Linked DNA regions of Homo sapiens: region 2 is linked to region 1. The links are contacts of gene promoters, found by promoter capture Hi-C in human tissues and cell types (Jung and others, 2019). All regions are on one chromosome and are shown on one strand. The core of a region is centred on a gene start or on the middle of the fragment in contact, and the rest is flanking DNA. Distances in the headings are between cores, read along the strand shown.

Evidence for each region. Contacts are between HindIII fragments. The study calls those that stand out against the background at their distance.
Region 2: a contact is called between a fragment that was not itself captured here and the fragment with the promoter of TUBB6 in region 1, in 1 of the 25 tissues and cell types used here (H1 embryonic stem cells).

What each region holds. Positions count from the first base shown.
Region 1 is chr18:12,305,964-12,309,841 of GRCh38, reverse strand. It overlaps TUBB6 (tubulin beta 6 class V), which reads right to left and starts at 1,601. Exons shown (of 4, transcript NM_032525.3): 1 at 1,493-1,601; 2 at 1,047-1,155. The coding sequence starts at 1,549. RefSeq lists silencers at 1,066-1,415, 1,436-1,535, 1,626-2,115. The HindIII fragment of the contact is 9,027 bases long and covers 1-3,878 here.
Region 2 is chr18:12,063,725-12,067,602 of GRCh38, reverse strand. It overlaps the pseudogene LOC646044. Among named protein-coding and RNA genes, the nearest start is that of ANKRD62, 28 kb to the left of the region's middle. The HindIII fragment of the contact is 4,563 bases long and covers 1-3,878 here.

The DNA.
Region 1 (3,878 bases), core at 352-2,851:
TTTGAGTCAGAGTGTTCTTGTGTGGAAATTTCATGCCAATTGGGCTAGAACTTGTTCCCGGTGAGGACACGGTTAATATGATTCCAGATAGGACCTGCTCTTCAACTCCTGTCCTGCAGTGCACTCGCCAAGATCGAAAATGGATGTACCCAAGCTGGGTGAGGGATTAACATGAAGTGCAGTGTATACTGGAACTATCCTTAGTGTCCTCTAGAAATTTCATCTTCCATGCCCTGATGTTCCCAGCCTTTTGTCATTGCTGCGTAAATGAATAAAACTCCACTCGTTGCTGAGAACTGCCTGGAGTTTCAGCTTCCAGGGAGGTTAAAGTCTTTTTAGAGGTCTGCAAGGGACCAGAAAAGTCACTTAAGAGAGCGTTTCTCAAATTTTTAGCCAAGAATCCCCAATAAGAGATACGTTTTAAACTGGGGGGGGGGGGGGGGAAGCTTTGTTTTTCCCAAGGATCCTTGAGAAACGCTCTAATTTATTCTAACAGGGTCTCGCTCTGTCACCCAGGCTGGAGTGCAGTGGCGCGATCACAGCTCACTGCAGCCTCGACCTCCTGAGCTCAAGCCCTCAGTTAACTGGTACTACAGGGGTGGGCCACCAAGCCCGGCTAATTTTAAAATTGTTGTAGAGATCGGGGCGGGAGGGGGGCGGGGGGTGGTCTCCTATGCTGCCCAGGCTGGTCCTGAACTCCTGGCCCCAAATGATCCTCCAGTCTCGGCCTCCCAAAGCGCTGGGATTAGAGGCTTGAGCCACCGCGCCCGGCTAGACAGAGAAGGCTGGGCAGGAACCGCTACGTTGATTTCACAACGCTAACGGGTGGTCCCGTTCAAGCGCTCAGACCCTCAGGATAGGCTGAATCGAGCTGTTTGAATAAACTGACGGCGGATTTCCCGCCCCGGAGGAGCGAAGGGAGTGGCCGGGCATCCTGCTACACCCCGAGAGAACTTTTCCCGAAGCAAACTCGCCGCGCTAAGAGGCGGCGCCGGAGCGTCCACGCGGGTCCCGGCCGGGCAGGGCGCGGCGGCCTTGCTACTCACACGATGACTCATTGTAGTAGACGTTGATTCTCTCCAGCTGCAGCGCCGAGTCTCCCACGTAGCCTCCGGCCGGGTCGATGCCGTGCTCATCGCTGATCACTTCCCAAAACTTGGGCAGGGCAAGGCGGGGGGACAGACGCTCAGAACCCAGAGCCCGGGACGCCGCCACCCGCGCCCACCCCAGGCGCCCCGGCGGCCGAATTCCAGGCGCGCCTGAGCCGCCGGCAGCCGCTCCCAGTTGGGATGGGGGTGGGGAGCGAAGAGTAGAAGGTCCCCGGCCGGCCACGCCCCGGGCGCTCCCTCCCTGCGGCCCTCGCGGGTCCGCACCGGGCTCCGAGGACCCAGGGGCGCACAGCGGGTGCGCGCCCCGGCGGGGGTCGCGCCGGGAGACCCGGGGCCCGCCAGCAGCCGACCCGCGGAGAGGCCCTGCACCGCGCCAGGCCCACCTTGGTGCCGATCTGGTTCCCGCACTGGCCCGCCTGGATGTGCACGATCTCCCTCATGGCGGGCGCGGCTCTGCGCTAGGAACTGGCTCTGCGGACGACAGCGGCAACTGCGGGCCGGCTGCGCGCGTCCCGGGGCCGACCCTCCGCGCCCCCGCCCCCGCCCCGCCGCTCGCCAATGGCTGCGGGCCCCGCCCCGCCGCCCCCGCTCGACGCCGCGGCCCGGCCTGCAGCAGCCGAGGGAGGACGCGCGGGCGCCAGTCGGGGGACCCTTGCCGGGAGCCGGGCGGAAAAGGACGGGCCCGGAGCTGGCGGGGAGGAGACGGGAAGGAGCGCGGCGCCCGCCCCCACCACCGTTTCGCTGCCCCTTGTGGTGCCCCGCCAGAGGGAGACGCGAGTCGGGCCCTGGCGTCGGGGCAGCGGAGCCGACGTGGCCCGCGGGGTCCCAGCGCCGCGCCCGGGAGCATTGCAGCCGCCCGCGCCCAGTCCAGCCAAGCCGGGACACTGCCCTGGGGTTCGGCGGTGGAGCTTTTCAGGGTCTCTGCCCCCTGCCCCCCACCCCCCGGTCGCACCCCGGGCACACGTTCTTAGGGCCTCTTCGTCCTGGTGTTTCCGTCTCCGGAGATACAGAGGCCATTCCTCTCCGACGACTCCCACCCCTTTGGAACCGGGTTTAGCTAAAGTGACTACAGGGCTGGATCCGAAAATGAACACCTCCTGCGCCGGGTCTATGCAGCCTACTCCTCGCGCGTTAGCGAAGAAATGCGCTTCGGCCTGGGAGGGCGCGCCAGAGTCCGTCTTCCTGGCCAGTTTTGTGTGGTGGAAAGGAATGACTGCTGATGCCGGCCGGGTGACTTGGATTTTAATTCTAGCTGTTTTCAGTTAGCTCTGCGCTTCAGCGGACTCCTCTGTTAACGGAAAAGGTTATCCTAGGGGAGCCTTTCAGCCTCCAAAATGCGGGATGCTCTGGCCTCTGCAGTCAGAATGTGCATGCATCAGGGCTTTTGCGGAAGTTTCCTCACGTGAACGCTGCAGGCTGGGACCACCGGGGTAGCCTCTGCGTCCCCTCCCAGGCCCGTAGAAACGCCGCACATGAGGAAGCGACGATGTTCTGTAATTTGCACTGGCACTTTCTTTTTAGACAGATGAAAACTTTGGGAAATTCCTAATTGTGTGTGTGCATGTTTGTACGTTTGGAAGGGAGTGGAGAACTTTTAAAAGTTTTTCTTCTGGAGTTTTGCAAATGTTTCCAAATTGAGGAATTTTTTTTTTTAACCCTTGGGTCCCCGCCTCCCCACTGCTCTCTCCACCCCAGTGCTGCTCCTCGGCCTTCTTGTGGGTCCCCACACCTCTTTACACAGCCACACGCCCAGGGAGCAGATGAGGAGGCCACAGCCCAGCCCCTGCGCTCCCATTTCAAACTATGAGCCTGAGATTAATCAGCCACCTTCTCCTGAGTCCTCAACACCCTTATTTAGGCTGTTTGTTTCCATTGCTTAATTATTGACTCCAACGAGTGCTACCTTAACCCATCCTGCCGGCCCGAAGTCTAGTGTGGGGAGCCCGAGAGCGGAGGGCCTGTGCCATCCCTGGAAGAACCCTTCCTCCAGCTTTAGTCTCTCTCTCTAAGAAATCCAGCCATCAAGTGGTTTAAAAGAAAGTGTCTACTTTAGAAGCTTTGGTCGTTTGCTGAAATAGCCACCCTTTCAGTGCTAGCCCTTGGGCTGGAATTTAAGTCCAGGGGTCTGATCGAGCCAGAAAGTAGGTGTCAGCGTGGCTTCCGGAAGTCCGTTGTCACTTGGATTTGACAAGGGACAAGCCGACCTGCTGGTTTCTGGGCTCCTGCTCGCTGTGCGCTCTGCGCTGTCTGCAGGGATTGGTGCCCGCGGAGTGCGCTTTGTCTGGAGAAACTCAGTGCTCGAAGAGTGAGGAGACCGGGAGGAAACCTTCCCCCTGCAAAGCTTATCTCCCTTCCCTCTCATCAGAGGCGGGGCCCCGCAAGACACAAGGGATTTCCCCGCAGAATGAACCAAGGCCTCCCCAGGACATGGGGACAGTTCTGCTGTGCAAAGCCTGAATTCACGTTTCTTTCCTAAAGTGGCTCCCAGTCTCTCTGCAGCCTTGGCCTCTCTTTGAATCCCAACCCTGACTTCCCTGGTGTCTGTTGGCCACTCCCTTCTGGGAGCCGGCAGGTGAAACCCTGACCTGTGAGCCCGGCCTGGGGCTCTCCAGGCTCTGGGCCCCCTACCCTCCCGATCTGTGGCCCTCACTCCTCCTGGGCGAGGCTGTTTGTGACGCGGTGTGTCCAAATGCACACAAGCCGCAAACCAAACTTAAAAAAGCGTAGAGGACACATTCTCTTCTCCTACCTTAAAAAATACACCATGGT
Region 2 (3,878 bases), core at 495-2,994, 240 kb after region 1:
TGGCCCGTGGGCCAGCCCCAGTGGAAACTCGATCCCCTACTCCTCCTCATCCCCTGGCAGCTACACGGGACCCCCAGGAGGAGGTGGGCCCCCTGGAACACCTCATCATGCCTAGCCCTGGAGATTCTACCAACTCCAGTGAAAACATGTACACTATCATGAACCCCATCGGGCCGGGTGCCGGCAGGGCTAATTTCCCGCTCGGCCCTGGCCCGGAGGGCCCCATGGCCGCCATGAGCGCGATGGAGCCTCACCACGTAAGCGGATCCCTGGGCTCGGGCGACATGGACGGGTTGCCGAAGAGCTCCCCCGGCGCCGTGGCCGGCCTGAGCAACGCCCCGGGCACCCCGCGGGACGACGGCGAGATGGCGGCCGCCGGGACCTTCCTGCACCTGTTTCCAAGCGAAAGCGTAAGCGACTGCTTCGACTCTCCCCCCTCCAGGGCGGTGTCAGGCGGGAGGGGCCTGGCGGGCAGGCCCCGGCGGGGCGGCCGGGGGGCCAGAGCAAGACCGTGACAGCGGCGGGCCAGTACTCGCCAGGGATGACCATGAGTGTGTGATGGGGCGGCAGCCCCGGGCCTCTGCGGGCCTAGGCTTCTGCCCAGCCTCCCTGCTCAGGGTGAGGGGCTGAGGTCACACCTTGGGCACCTGGACTCCTGGCCAGTCAAGGCTTGCCCAGCTGGGAGGCCCCACACGAAAGATTCTTACCATTTTATTAGAAACGCAAGGACCTCAGAGACGTTCTTTTCTGTATGGACCCTTTCTGCCATTTGTATTTTGTCCCAGAGAGAAAGGCTCTTTGGGGGGCCCCTCTCCCCAGGACGTCAGGGGGTGGGGCCCATCGATAAATGGAAGCTGGTTTTGGTTTTTTGGTAAAAAAAAAAAAAAAAAAAAAAAAGTGATGAGAAAACTCAGACACAGCCTTCATGCAATTTTGCTGAAAATATAGTGAACATGCTCTTACAACTCATTCATACCCAGGTTTCCATGACTTCAAGTTTTGTGTTCTTTTTCTGCTACTTCAGTAAGAGTATTTAGAGACACAAGATGGCCAATCATAGAATCTGGGGGAAATTAACAATATTTAAAGAGCAGATCAAGAAAGAGGAACTACTTAAGACAACAAAAGGAGGTATGAGAATGTGCAGGCCAGGCACGGTGGCTCAGGCCTGAAATCCCAGCAGTCTGGGAGGCCGAGGGGGAGCGGAGCACCTGAGGTCAGGAATTCGAGACCAGCCTGGCCAACATGATGAAACCCTGTCTCTACTAAAAATACAAAAATTAGCCTGACGTGGTGGTGGGCACCTGTAATTCTAGCTGCTCGGGAGACCGAGGCAGGAGAATTGCTTGAACCTGGGAGGCAGAGGTTGCAGTGAGCCAAGATCCTGCCATTGCACTCCAGCCTGGACAACAAGAGTGAAACTCCATCTCAACAAACAAACAAAGAAGCAAACAAAAGATGTGCATGGAGGAGTTTTAAGAAAGAGGGAGTCAAATCTAGTAGAGGCCAGCTTTGATTAGAGGTGATCATTCATCACAGGACTTTTGGAGAAAATTGGTGACGTGTATCAAAAAAGTTTCAGTGGAATTGTGGAAAAGATAAGTGTGATGGAGCAGTGAGTTGTGAACTAAATGAAAGGTAGAGAAGGGGAGACAATGAGGACAGACTTCTCTTTTAAAAAGCCAGAAAAAAAACGGAGATGGAAAGGGATGAGAATGCAGGTGGAGGTGAGACAGACAAAGAGATGAGGTGAGGCCAAAGGACAAGGTGGCCCTTTAGCGCAAGACTCATGGGAGTCCTTATAAACTAAAGGGTAGGAACCAGGGGCTGAGCAGAGGCTGACAACACAGAGGAAAGGACGTTTCAAGATTCCTTAGTAGCTGAGTGAGAAGACCCTGAGCACTGGTGGAGGAGCATGGCATGAACAGACAGAGGACTCTGAGAGCAGACGAAACAGAAGACGACTATCCTGGGGCCAGATGTGCAGCAGGGGATGGGCAGGAAGGCGGGGAGTTCAGACAGGACTCATAAGCTGTGAGTGCATGGAGAGGCAAGCTGGCTGACTGCGTATTTGCATAAATGCAGTTATTATAAAATCCATATATAGATTTTACTTTTCAAAGAACTATAACACACAGAACACCAAAACTATACAAAATAAAGCCATCTGTTTTAGACAATTTAGAAAATACTTAAGCATATGGCCGTGTTCTTCATTAAGAATAATAGACCTTTACTGTGTAAGTCTGAAATTCTGAGCTGCCTTTGAACGGGCTCCATGATACGCTCTGAAAGCTACTTTAAAAACAAACCTCTGATACCCATTGGTTTATTTGTCTTCTGTCTCTTTCTCATAAAAGTTGACTATAGAAGACATTTCCAGTAACTGTGATTTCAGTGATTTCAAAGCTAAATGAATAGGAGTTTCCTGCACCATCTCATAAGCATTGCATTTGCCCAGAAAACTGCTTAAACTTGACTTCAGACTTTTACTACACTCTGCTTCTGTAATGGATCAGTTCTCTGGTTTATATGAAATTCTAACAGGCTTGCATAAGCTTTCATCCTACTCATTCTTACATGAACTTCATGATATAATGAAATAAAAATGTAATGAGATAAAAATCTCTAAGCAAATTACTTCCTAAGTGGCAAATCACTAGAAAGTGAGAATTGTTATAATTCCGTCCGTACTCCACCTCCAGGGATGTGCTTTCAGGAACAAAGACAGATCTCAGTGTTCCAGTGAAGCAAGAGTGGCTGTGACCGTGGTCCAGTGCAGCAGAGGAAAGACCTATGTCTGAGCATGAGGCCATGTTAGAGAGGCTCCTGGGGTTTGGCTCCTCTTCCTGCCTCACCCCTTCTACTTTGAACCCCTGCCCCAGTTCACACCCCCTCCACTGCCCTTCAGGAGTAAGGCACACTGCACACACACACACACTACACACTCATACACTGTACACACACACTGTACACACATTGCACACTCACACTGTACACACACTGCACAGACATGCACACATTGCATACACATGCACACTGCACACACATGTACACACACTGCACACATGTACACACACTGCACACACGTACACACTGCACACACACAGTGCATTCACACATGCACACTCCTTCTGTGTGTTTCAGATGCTGCCAATGCTGTGGGTGCCCTGGGGGAGACAGGGTCCCACAGGGTCAGCAGGGAGGACTGGCGCTGGTGGTCTGAAGGGCTCCCGGGCTAAGTGTGAATCATAGCAGGGCAGGGCTGGGGTTGGGGAGAGGGAGAGGGGCCATGAGAGGGGTGTGGCGTGGGGACGCTCCTCCTCCTCACCCCTGTGGTCCCCTCAGATCTTCAGGGTCAGCAATGCCAAGCTGGAGCCACAGGCCAGGCCTTCCAGTCCTGTGACTGGTGAGTGACTCGGATAGGGCTGGTGAGGGATGAGGGCCTGTGTCCTAGGGCAGTGAGCTGAGGCCCTGGAGGAAGTGGGAGGCGATGGGGAGAACTTGGTCTCACCTCTGCCTGGAGAGAGGGACTTCCCACAGGACCCCCAGGGCTTCCTGGCCTCAGGGGCGATCCTGGAGCCAAGAGAGAGAAGGTGAGTGACACACACACAGCCAGGTGTCACTCCATCACCCTCAGCCCTGAAGCCTATGGGACCCTGAGGCCCCTGCTCTGCTCCAGGCCCCCAGCACCAGGCCATGGGGTCCCTGCTCAGGGAGGGCCACTCAGAGACCCTGTGCCCTGTCCCTCTCTGTAACTTGGCCGTTCTCCCCCATGTGTGTGACTCCTCCTGCATCCCCCGGCCACCTGCTCCCTTCTCTAGGGGTACCCAGGTCTCGTTGGACTGATCAGGTCCCCAAGGAGGCAGGGAAAGAAG